Linked DNA regions of Homo sapiens: region 2 is linked to region 1. The links are contacts of gene promoters, found by promoter capture Hi-C in blood cells and fetal thymus (Javierre and others, 2016). All regions are on one chromosome and are shown on one strand. The core of a region is centred on a gene start or on the middle of the fragment in contact, and the rest is flanking DNA. Distances in the headings are between cores, read along the strand shown. Region 1 holds the start of CCR8 (C-C motif chemokine receptor 8). Region 2 overlaps WDR48 (WD repeat domain 48).

Evidence for each region. Contacts are between HindIII fragments. The CHiCAGO score rates a contact against its expected background, and 5 or more counts as called.
Region 2: a contact is called between a fragment that was not itself captured here and the fragment with the promoter of CCR8 in region 1, in 1 of 17 cell types (neutrophils). The highest score is 5.2, in neutrophils.

Annotation. Positions count from the first base shown.
Region 1 is chr3:39,325,316-39,331,711 of GRCh38, reverse strand. CCR8 (C-C motif chemokine receptor 8) reads right to left here and starts at 2,003. Exons shown (of 2, transcript NM_005201.4): 1 at 1,883-2,003. RefSeq lists enhancers at 3,332-3,421, 3,772-3,861. The HindIII fragment of the contact is 11,619 bases long and covers 1-6,396 here.
Region 2 is chr3:39,065,005-39,071,400 of GRCh38, reverse strand. It overlaps WDR48 (WD repeat domain 48), which reads right to left. Exons shown (of 19, transcript NM_020839.4): 3 at 5,512-5,590; 4 at 4,771-4,853; 5 at 4,526-4,655; 6 at 2,542-2,630; 7 at 1,657-1,758. Among named protein-coding and RNA genes, the nearest start is that of WDR48, 16 kb to the right of the region's middle. The HindIII fragment of the contact is 3,739 bases long and covers 1,716-5,454 here.

The sequences.
Region 1 (6,396 bases), core at 754-3,253:
CGGATTGCTTGAGGCCAGGAGTTCGAGACAAGCCTGGCCAACAGTGCAAAACCCCGTCTCTACTAAAATTACAAAAATTAGCCAGGCATGGTGCCACATGCCTGTAATCCAAGCTACCTCGGGAGGCTGAGGCACGACAATTTCTTGAACCCAGGAAGCAGGGGTTGCAATGACTCGAGATCAAGCCACTGTACTCCAGCCTGGGTGACAGAGTGAGACTCTGTCTCAAAAAAAAGAAAACAGAAACAAAACCAAAAAAGGCAGGGCCCTAATCTGATAGAACTAGTGTCCTTAACAGAAGAGAAAGAGACACAAGAAATTTTGCTCCCCTTGTGCATGGAGTAAAGACCATGTGAGGACACAGCAAGAAGGCTGAAATCAGCAAGCCAGGTAGAGAAGCCTCACCAGAAATCAACTGCATTGGCAGCTTGGTCTTGGACTTCCAGCCTTTAGAAGTATGTTAAACAACACTTTCTGTTGTTTAAGCCACTCAGTCTATTGTATTTTGTTATGTAAACCAAAGGGAGTCAGCTGAGATGAGAAAAGCCAAAACTTACAAAGAAAATGTAAATACCCATAGTTCCATCACCTAGAATTAGCAGCTGCTAACATATTCTCACAATGCTTTGGGTTATTTTTTTTTCCTTCCTTCCTTCTTTTTTTCTCCCTTCTTTTCTCCCTCCCTCATTCCCTCTCTTCCTTCCATCCCTCTTTCTTTTTTTATTTCTGATGCAATAGAGATGAAGCTAATGTTCCCTTTAACTACACAACTTATCCCCATAACAGAAACAACAACTAAAACCAATTTGGTATGTATCATTCCAAACAATTTCCCCCTGTACTTTTACATATTTATATATATCCATAAACAATATATATTTTTGTGTGTTTTAACTTACATAAATGATATATTGTTTTAACTTACATAAATGATATATTGTTTTTCCCTTTGTATTTTGCTTATTGTTTTAGAGATATATCTGCATGATATTCATCAGTTTATTCTTTTAATTGCTTTCCTAAGCACCAGAAAAAAAATAACTTTATAAATGCAATAGAAAAATGATCCCAATTATACTAGCAATGAAAATTACTAGCATTACTAGGAATAAAACTAATAAAAATGCAATTCAGTTACATAAAAATTATAAAACTTGACAATTCTTCTCAAATTGATATATACATTCAATGCAATTTCAATCCAGACATATTTTTCCAAGGCATTTGTTTGCTTTACATTCAGACACCCCTCTCCACTCTGCTACTTTTCTATGATTTGAAAGCACAAGCAAGCAAGCAAGCAATTTATTTATTTTTTTAGAGACAGGGTCTCACTATGTTGCCCAAGCTGGAGTACAGTAGTTATACGCAGGTGTGATCTCACACAAAGCCCTGACTTCTGGGCGCAAGCAATCCTTCTGCCCCAGGCTCTTGAGTAGCTGGGACTACAGGCACCCACCAGCAACTTCTTTAGTCATATGAAAGTTTGCTCGCTGGCTTCTTTCCTTAAGAACAGCACCCAGGTGTCCTTCAGTTACCTGATAGAAGCCCTGTACCCAGCACAAGGACAGATCTTCCCAGATGCCTGGTATTATAAAGGATCTTCTCTTATCTACCTTCCCACTCTTGTAGGAGTTTTCACTCTCTCCTAAAGGCCTGCAGAGAATATGGCACGGTTTGCTCTCCTCAGCCAGAGCATGGGCAGCCACTAAGACACATGCATGTTTGTGGGCTCTGAGGAAATGCAAAGATTTAAAAAAAAATTTTACTTCTTGTGCTAGACCTCTGAAATTTTGGTCTTCCCTTTGCCTATCCTCTAAAGATATAAAAATGCCCCTGCCTACTCATGCCCTTCTTCCCCAAGGATGCTTGTAGCACATACCTTAGTGACAGCCTTTGTTCTGGAGGTTTCAGTGTTGCCAATTCCTTCTTCACAAAGTCTGTATCCTCATGTGAGTGCAGCTCAATGAGCAGCAGCCTCTCTGGAGGTATCCTCCCACTACAAACAGCAGATGGAGAGAAGGCAGTCTCTTGAGGGCTCCACCCTCACACCTAGTCACCTAAAGGGAGGCAATGAGGGTTAAATGAGATCGTAAGGCTGAGGCCCTAATTCAATAGGACTGGTGTCTCCTAGGTAGAGGAATACACACCAGAGCTCACTCTCTTGCCTCCAGGTGCTCAGAGGAAAGGCCATGTGAGGACACAGGGAGAAGGCAGCCATCTGCAAGTAAGGTAAATAGGCATCACCAGAAACCAGACTTGTGGGCACCTTGGTCTTCTAGCCTCCAGAACTGTGGGAAAACAAATTTCTGTTGTTTAAGCTACTCAGCCTGTAGTATTTTGTTATGGAAGTCCTAGCAGACTAATACAGGGGTTAATGGGAATTTTCTGTGTTGTCTACCTAGATTTTCTGTAAACTTAAAACCTCTAAAAAATAGTCTATTAAAATTTTTAATTGAAATCAGTATTAAAATGAAATCATAATTCCATTATTATTTTGAAGTTATACAATTTATACCAGGACTGGCTTTCCTCCATGGTATGTAGCATACACAAATGTGTGTGTATGTTGTATGCATGTACATATATTAACTCTTTCAACAGGAATGCCATTTGAAAATCACTTTAAGTCAGTTTCCCCTATCCCAGGAGAGTGAACATGAGTCCCAGAATTGTTGGGAGGAAATGACAGAAGTTCCAGAATCTCCTCATCTCCAACCCACTCATTCCTGGAGAAATGCAGTAGAAATATCTGCTGGATGCCAGGTACGGTGGCTCACATCTGTAATTCCAGCATTTTGGGAGGCTGAGGCAGGAGGATTGCTTGAGCCTAGGAGTTCAAGACCAGACTGGTCAACATAGCAAGACCCCATCTCATACGGTTTGGCTCTGTGTCCCTACCCAAATCTCATCTTGAATTATAATCCTCATAATCCCCATGTGTCAAGGGCGGGACCAGGTGGAGTTAATTGGATCATGGGGGCAGTTTCCCCCATGCTGTTCTCATGATAGTGAGTGAGTCTCAAGAGATCTGATCTGATGGTTTTATAAACACCTGGCATTTTCCCTGCTTGCACTCACTCCATCCTGCCGACCTGTGAAAAATGTGCCTGCTTCTCCTTTGCCTTCCACCATGATTATAAGTTTCTTGAGGCCTCCCCAGCAATGCAGAACTGTGAGTCAATTTAACCTCTTTCCTTTATAAATTATCCAATCTTGGTCTTTCTTTATAGCAGTGTGACAACGGACTAATGCATCATCTGTACAAATTTTTTAAATAAAATTAGCCAGGCATGGTGGCATGCACTTGTAGTCCCAGCTACTTGGGAAGCTAAAGTGGGAGGATCACTTGAGTCCAGCAGTTTGAGGTGAGCTATGATTGAGCCACTGACCTGTCTCTAAAGAAAAAATAAAAGGAAATATCTGCTGGTACCTGAATTCATACCTCGGCAAATTCCCCTCACCATCATTCATGTTTTGACGCAGTTTGGGGAAAACCCAGTTCCTTTATGAGAGTTTTGTATGTGATAAGCAAAGATCAATGGTGAGCCGATGGAGAACTCAGGGCCCTCAGGTATTACTAGTCCATGTCATGATGGTGGGAACTATGGGACCGCCTCATCAGTGAGGGCAGGTGTGGGGGAAGCCACCTTCCCCTCCAAAGCCCAGTTAAGCAAGGCCTGAGGGACTAAGGTGGAATTCCCCCCAAGCCCAGTTTCTAGTGCAAGCTGATCTAAACCCCAAACAGTCTCTATCTTCAGTTCCTGAGGATTCTTTTATCAGCTGCTCCTCCATACTTGGCACAGTGCTTAGTGCACAGCAACTTCTTAATAAATAGTTGAACAGAGAGAATGAGGCAAGGTGGAGATGTGGAGTCTGGTGAAGAGTTGGAGGAAAGGACTGAACAGCCAGAATGGAAGGATGCTCCTCTTTTTGTGTTTCCTGAGCCAGATCTGAGGGCTGGTGTGGGCCCCTGCAGGACTGGACACTTGCCTGCTGTCACCTGTGTATTTGTTTCCTGTGGCTGCTGTAACAAATTACCACCAACTTAGTGGCTTAGAGCAGCAGACGTGTATTCTCCCCCAGTTCTGGAGGCCAGATGGCTATAATCCAGCAGGGCTGCCTCCTTCTGGGTGCTTGAAGGGCGAATTGTTCCTTGCCACTTCTGGCTCTTGGTGGCTGCCCCAGCAAACCTGGGGCTTGTGGCCACATCACTTTAATCTCCACCATCTTCACATCTCCTTCTCCACTGTGTGTCTGCATCAGATCTCACCCACCTCTGATTTATGAGAACACTCATGATTGGATTTAGGATCCGTCCAGGTAATCCATGATAATCTCCCCATCTCAAAATCCTTGACTTAATCACATCTGCAGAAGCTCTTCTCCCAAGTAAAGTAACATTTACAAGTTCTAGGAATTAAGACTTCATCTCTTTGGTTGACCATTATTCAACCCACAACATCCTGACTCGGAAGACAGACAAACTGTGACATAGTTAACTGACAAGCCTTGGTTCCTCACCTTTGGGCCTACATCAGGGATTCAGGCATTCTATGGGAAGGCAGCAGAAACCAAACTACAAAACCAAAGTAGTGTGACCCCTCCAGAGCCAATGGCCTCTCCAAGTCTACCTTCTGCTGCACATTCAATGGGTTCTGAAAATGCTGGATCAGATCCATTGGGGACATCCCATCTAAATTCAATTCTACTGGGTCCCTCCAAAGGTTCAAAAGACTGTATTTCACTTCAGAGGGAAAAAGAGACTAGCAGCATATTTGACCTCCTTTCCTCCAAAATAAAGAGAAAGAAAAAACTGTATTTAAATAAACCCTAAGTGTAAATGTAGAAATTACTACTATCACAGATATTTGTCATAGAGTATTAGGGCAGAAAATGGCCTCAGGTCATACAGCTGATGTCTCTCTCCCTCTCTTTCTTTCAAAGTAGTAATATTTAAGTCCAGAGAGGCAAAGTGGCTCACCCAAAATCACACAGTAATTTGGTGGTAGAGCCAGAGCCAGAACTCAGGTCTTCCGAGGCACAGCTGAGGGTGCTTTTCTTACTGCACCACATTCAAAATTCTCGTGCAATAACATTATGAAGAGTTGTGGATAAGACTAGAGGAAGTCTTTCTGTATTTTCTATAGTTTTCAACTATATGTCAGTCCCTCAGTGATTTGTAGGGTAAAAATGCATTTGCTTAACGAAAAGTGTTAGACAAAGCCAGAGTTTAAGAAAAGCTCGTGTGTTATTAATAGTAAAGCCAGTTTTGCTGTCTATATAATTTAATTTCCCATATGGATTACAAAAAAGAGTAACAAGAAACAGATTTTCTTTTTTACTACTATTTATTTCCTTCATAAGAGTAATCATGACAATTGTCAGAATACAAAAAAAGGTATCATCATAATTTTGATTTGAAGGGTTGAATATGGAGAAATGTGGTTAATAACGTATTTTTAGTTGCATTTTCAGGAAATTCATATTACCTTGTGTGCCAGAATAATTGATTAGATCTCTTAGTGGTTTGTTTTGTTTTGTTTGAGACGGAGTTTTGCTCTTGTTGCCCAGGCTGGAGTACAATGGTGCAATCTTAGCTCACTGCAACCTCTGCCTCCTGGGTTCAAGTGATTCTCCTGTCTCAGCCTCCCTAGTAGCTGGGATTATAGGCGCCCGCCACTACACCTGGCTAATTTTTGGTATTTTTAGTAGAAACGGGGTTTTACCATGTTGGCCAGGCTGGTCTCTAACTCATGACCTCAGGTGATCCACCCGCCTCAGCCTCCCAAAGTGCTGGGATTACAGGCATGAACCACTGTGCCCGGCCTTTCTTTTTTTTTTTTTTTTTGAGACAGAGTCTTCCTCTGTGGCCCAGGCTGGACTGTAGCAGCATGATCTCAACTCACTGCAGCCTCCACCTCCCAGGTTCAAGAGACTCTCCTGCCTCAGCCTCCAGATTGGCTGGGACTACAGGTGCATGCCACCATGCCCGGCTAAATCTCTTAGCCTTTTGGTGGTGCTTTATTCCCAGAATTTATCTTCTACAAACATGCTCACCACCTTTTTCCAAGGCTACAAGCACTGAAGTGCCTAGCATATTCTCAGAACTGCTTTTGCCATTAGAAGGGATAAAAAAATGAAATTTATGATTTCCTCACTTAAGGAGCTTAGCAATCATGGCACTTTCATCACAGGAGTCCCAGGAGGTGATGGTTCTCTGAAGAATGATGAATAATGAAAGGAAAAAGTATCACTGTGAAAACCATGTAGAAACCCAGAGAAATCTTTATGATTAAGGTGGCATGTATACTATGACTGTCTCTTTGCGAAGCATGGATGAGTGTGGGTACATCCAGAATGAAATAGGCAGAAATTAAAACAATCTTATATTAG
Region 2 (6,396 bases), core at 2,336-4,835, 260 kb after region 1:
CTCAAGTGCAGCCTTGCAGCTACACTGCAAAACAGTGAGGAGCTGACTGCACTGGGTAATTCTTACAGTCATGTGAAAATGAGGCCACAAAGGAACTTGAGAGCTCTAGGAAATGCCCTGGCTTACAGTTAAGAAAATACTTATTATTAACACATATATATACATATACACACACTCTCACCAACTATATAAACTATATATTATGATTCTCACTTTGCAGATAAGCAAATTAAGGACTAAAGTGAAATCCTATCCTGTATGTTTATTGCGGCACTATTCACAATAGCAAATACTTGGAACCAGCCCAAATATCCAACAATGATAGACTGGATTAAGAAAATGTGGCACATATACACCATGGAATACGATGCAGCCATAAAAAATGATGAGTTCATGTCCTTTGTAGGGACATGGATGAAATTGGAAATCATCATTCTCAGTAAACTATCGCAAGAACAAAAAACCAAACACCGCATATTCTCACTCATAGGTGGGAACTGAACAATAAGAACACATGGACACAGGAAGGGGAACATCACACTCTGGGGACTGTTGTGGGGGTGGGGGGATAGCATTGGGAGATATACCTAATGCTAGATGACAAGTTAGTGGGTGCAGCGCACCAGCATGGCACATGTACACATATGTAACTAACCTGCACATTGTGCACATGTACCCTAAAACTTAAAGTATTAAAAAAAAAAAAAAAAAAAGATCCTTCACATCTCCAAATACCTCCACAGGTATCTTTAAATCTTTCTTCTCCTGGTTCTGAAAAATGATTTCCTTCCTTAGACTAGTTTCCAAACCTTCTGTTCATTTCTGGAGGCGACGGCTTCTCTGATTGATGTCTAAAGCAATTTCTTAGACGTGAAATTTTAGCAATTTCATGTCTAAAGTCTTAACTTCCACAGGAAAAGAAACTGATGGTGTTTCTCACCTCATCATCTTTCTACCTGCCCTTTTCTAACCCTATCACAATCAATTCCAGTTATCTCTGACTTATCACTGCATTCTGGAAAAAAAATGGCTGAGTCAAGGGTACATGGTAGACATATGTCATACCCATAAAATGATGCTCAGTTTTTGTTTTTTATTATCTACATTGATGAAAAAGTATTTTCCATTGCTACAGAACAGAATTGTGATTTATAATTCACAAATTACGTGGCCAACAGAGCTAATGTATAACATTACCAAAATGTTTTTCTTTGAAATGTTCACTCTGAGCATTATGTTAGAAAACTAAATTTATCAACTATATCTACATAGTCAACTGACAAAATGTGCCCCTAAGTCAGACCCACTGTGAGCAAATTTTCCACTTAATACACTGGCAAAAAGCATTTGATATCAAAGCTTCCTTTTGCTTTACACAGGTAATGTTTTTAGTTATTTTAGCCCCTATGCACCATAAATGCATATACTCATCTGCATCAGAATTATTCTAAGGAAATTCTTTGTTTTGTTAAAAGTGATGCAAATAGAATAGTTTTTAAATGTAGCTTATATGTGCAATTTAGTATTTTAAAATTTTTTAATTAGACAATTTATAATAAGTGTGGCTTTCGGTTCAAATCAACCTATGCAATAGTATACAAAGTGCGGAAATTTCTAACAAGGTTATTAGGTAAACACCCAAATGAAACTGCATACTTGCGTGCCATCTCTGTTTAATAGCAATGCCTTCACATTATCCGTGTGCCCTTTAAGCTTCATTAGTTTTGCACATGTTCTTGGATCCCATACCCGTAACACCTGTGAATTTTAATAGAGTATTACACAAACTAAATATATCAGTATCAAATTTAAATAACAGACAACTCTCATAAGTCAAATGATAACCATTATATTCTGAGAAGGCAATACCACTTCTGCCAATGGACACTGTCTAAGCCTCCCAACCTCAGGGAATTAGGCCTTTCAAACATCAAAAATGCACAGCCTCTTTATCTTGTCACTATACACACAACAGTTATAGTTATACTCTTACTTATTCAAATAAAACCTTTTGTTTAGCACCCACTAGGCAAAACCACTGTCCATATATTTAATAATTACACAGATTAAATTATTTTGGTTTCTTTATTTTCTAATGTTCAAACCACCCTTTAAGCTCCCCCGATTGGGGCACAGTGGCTCTCATGCCTGTAATCTCAGCACTCTGGGAGGCCAAGGCAGGTGAATTGCTTGCACTAAGGAGTTGGAGGGACAACATGGCGAAACCCTGTCTCTATTAAAAATATACAAAAATTAGCCAGATGGGACAAGGAGTGGCCTGATGCACGTGATGGTGTGTGCCTGGGGTCCCAGCTACTCAGGAGATTGAGGTGGAAGGATCGCTACAGCCTCAGCAGTCAAGGCTGCAGTGAGCCAGGATCATGATGCCACTGCACCCCAACCTGGGTGACAGAGTGAGACCCAGTCTCTAAATAAATAAATATAAAGAAGCTAATCGTAAAATACCTGCTTAAAAAATAGGAGACAAGGTATGTGAAAAATAATTTTTTTTTTTAAATAAAGAAATAAGCTCCTCCTTACCTTTTCAGTGGACCCTGATACAATGATTGTTCCCAGTTGATTCATGGCCAGGCTATAAATGGAATCTTTGTTTCCACTTAAAGAAGAAGCTATTGAGGATAAACGGAGCTAAATGTTAACAAGATCATCAGCTGTTTAGTAACTAGTCAGCAAAAACTGCAAGTTTATTCAATTTAGAAAATCTTATCTTTATAAGTCCTCTACGGAAAAGAAATCTACCTATAATGGAGATAAATCTAAACAGTATTATTATCAAAATTTACATATTTTCTGGATTTGAATATATACAAATGCTCAATATCTGATAAACTGCAGTGCCATTGAAAAGCTATCCGCTTAAATGATATGTTTAAAGCTATTCATGTGCCATAAATATGAAAAAATGTTCAATTTCAGTATTTTTCAAACACAAATCAAACCAAAAACACTGTTTCATACACCAAGACAAAAAACAAGGTAATACTTGATTGTAAAAAGAAAACAGTACAATGGAACTCTCATATATTACTTATGTGAAGATAAATAGGTACAACCTTTCAGGAAGGAATTCAGACTATAGCAAAAATCATGTTCATACTCTCAGTATCACTGAAGTAAAAAAGATGTATATGAAACTGTCTATATAGTATGAACCCAATTTTACAAACATATTAAAAAGTTGAGTAAATGAGTTACTACATGTACTGTTTAGAAAAATGTCTACTTGTAGCAAGTACTCAATACAGGTTAGCCATTATTAGTATTATTTTTATTATTATGTATTAAAAAAAAGTGTGATATCCTCTCTAAACAACTCTAAGCAAGATGTAGCAGAATCTGTATCCACTAAGCCTGGGCCCTGACCTTGTGACAACCTGCTTTTTTTTTTTTGCTTTGTTCCCTCCCATTAGTGTCTCTTTGAGGCAGGCCTTACATCCAGACTTAAAACCTAATGATGTACCATGACAGCCCCAACAGGGACCAGCTAATGAATCAGAGATAATGTACAGGTGAAAAATCAAGAACAAGGGAAAAAGAATGTTGAGACCTTCACATATTTCCTGGAAAACAAGGCAAAACAACAATCAAGAGATTATAAACACAAGTCTCCCAACTTACCCTTCTTGGCACATACTAGGCTATATTAGTAAAACTGTATTGTCTATGTCAATGTGAACACTCCACAGAGTCGTTATAAAATGGACCTATAATGTAGGGATCCAGAGAATGCAGGCCCATGTCTTCAATGTAGACTTTCCAGGTCAGGCCTAGCCAAAAATGTGCTCCTAACAGTCCCTTCTGAAACCTGGCCTAGAGGACTCTACTAGGTTGGGCCAAGCATGAAGCTCAATTTCAAATCTAGACTTGTATGAGCCTGACTTGGTAGTCTGAGATCTCTTAGCTGATGAATCATCCATGCTGTGAACATCTCTGGATTGCCTCTAGAAGCACTCTACCGTTCTGGCTCTTCTGGAATTGGCTTGATTCCTCAGGGCTGCTCTAAAAGGCAGAAAATTTGATAAACTGGCACTGGAAACCTTTTCTTTCTTTCTCCTGGGTATTTTTCATCTTGGCTATTAACTCAAAAGCTCTTAACACTTTAAAAAGTCAGAAAACCGCCTACTTTGTCAGAAAATCGCCACCTCCTTCAATAATACCTGCTGAGTGTATGGATTTGGACCAGGGAATGCTGTGGGAGATACGAAGTAGTAAGACAGTCTCCTCTACCCTGCAGGGACTTACATTTTAGCTAGGGAGCTAAGACATGCACACGTACAAAAAATAACCAGGTTATACCTGGAGAAGTTACCATTTTTAGACTGCAGTGAGGAACTAGCTCTTTGTTGTTCAATCATACTCTTGGGGGCCAGAACGCTGTAGGTAGAAGCACTCTCAAAATATGAAACACTCTCTCGATGCAAACCTATCAAAAATGTTTTATAAACCATTCTTTATTTATGTTAACTTGGATCACTTTCAAAGAAGTTTCTTTTAAACACCTTACTTGTGACAGTGTTATTTGAGGCAGTCAATGCTGTTAGAGTATTCACATCCCAAAGGAATATTTGTCTGTCCAACCCAGCTGATGCTACTAGTTCTTTATCCTTGGCATATGCTAAGGCCTTTACGTAATCCTGTAATAGAACAGACATACTATGATCTATTCTGTAGATCAGTAATAAAATGAGCCACACAAAGTACTGAGATCCCAATATTACACTAAAGACACTGAGAACTGTATTGTTTTACCTTATGTGTCCTTAATGTTGACATGCAAAATCCCTTGTGTGCATTCCATACTTTTACTGTCGTGTCAGAAGAAGCAGATATTACTAGAAGAAGCAAAGAATTAACAAACTCCTTAGTAGTATGACTTAAAACTTTGAAAACTTATCTTACAACAATGTAACATTATTTCAAACTAACATATTCTCTCTCTTACACACACAAACATACCTAAAAGCTCTTTCTAGAACCTATTGTATATTGCCTCAATTTTTTAAAATCTCAAGACACATGTTCAAAGAAAAAAATATATTTTTAAAACAAGCAGTGCAAACATTTTTAATGTTCCAGTTGAAGGCTCAACTAATGTGATTGAGAAAAATTCCTGTAACTCGGACTGCAAAACCAAGGAATGGATCTCACCAAAATTAGAACAAAAAGAGGTATTAATAAGGCTAAAAGAAGAATACATATAGTACGAGTCTATATACAGTTCAAATGAAGGCAAAACTACCCTTTGGTGTTCAGAAGACAGAAGAGCAGTTACCTTGGGGCAAGAGGGAATAACTGAAAGGGTGGCAAAGGGTGGCACAAGAGGGCTTCTAGTAATATTGTTTCTTGATTTGGGTATTCACTTTCTAAAATTGTGTTGAACTGCAATCTCGAAGTGTGTGTACTTTTCTGTATGTATGTTTCAATAAAAAAGCTTATATAAAAAACAAAAAATATATCAGAAGCCCAATAATAATCCAAAGAAATACTTACATGTTTTCCCATTACAACAGAGTACAATGTCGTTTACCCAATCAGTATGGTGTTCCATAGATGCTATATATGGATCTTGCTGAAATTAAAAGAAAAATCCTAAGAGTTTATATGAGAGAATGAAATATATTACAAATGATAGATATGGTTAAATTCTTCAATTAATGTGACATACTGCTCTAGGCATTAAAACTAACACCTGAATTCTGAGTAGAATCTCACCAAATAGGTGATGCTTCCAGATAACAGATGTAAACAGTTTTGTTTCAGGACAGTTTTACTCTTACTGAAAGCTTAGGTTTCCAGGACAAATACTTCATTTTTTTTTTTTTTGCCTTGTTAAAGTGAAGGCAACAAGCTCTGGACTAGGCACTGTGTGTGACATAAAACCCTTTAAAAAGGGTTCACTAGAAAGGACATGACTTGTAGGAATCTGTAGGCTGTGGGGATTTGAATGAGTGGTGGTGAAGGCTCAACAGCAGACAGCAGGGGCAGCAATGAGTCTGATGAGTGCACTAAGGAGCCTGGTCTGAATGCAGAGGGAGATAAACACTTCTGCTTTCAGCTTCCTACTGTTGGGTTCACCCTCTGAATTAAATGTTTTCCTCATGGTACCTACAGGCCTTCAGAGATGAAAGGAAACCCAACGGCTGAGAAAGGACAACCTGTGTCACCATTTCAATTAGGTGATTCGAGATTCTACTTCTCTTACCTGGCTTAATAACCAGGAGAGGCCTTTTAAAGAACAGTATTTAGTTACATCCTACACCTAAAACAGGCAAGTTTGAGACACTTTATGGGCAAACAGAACAGCTCTGTACAAGTCTGTTTGACAAATAATGCTATTCAATCTTGTCATAAAAGGAAGACCAGAAAAAAGATGTT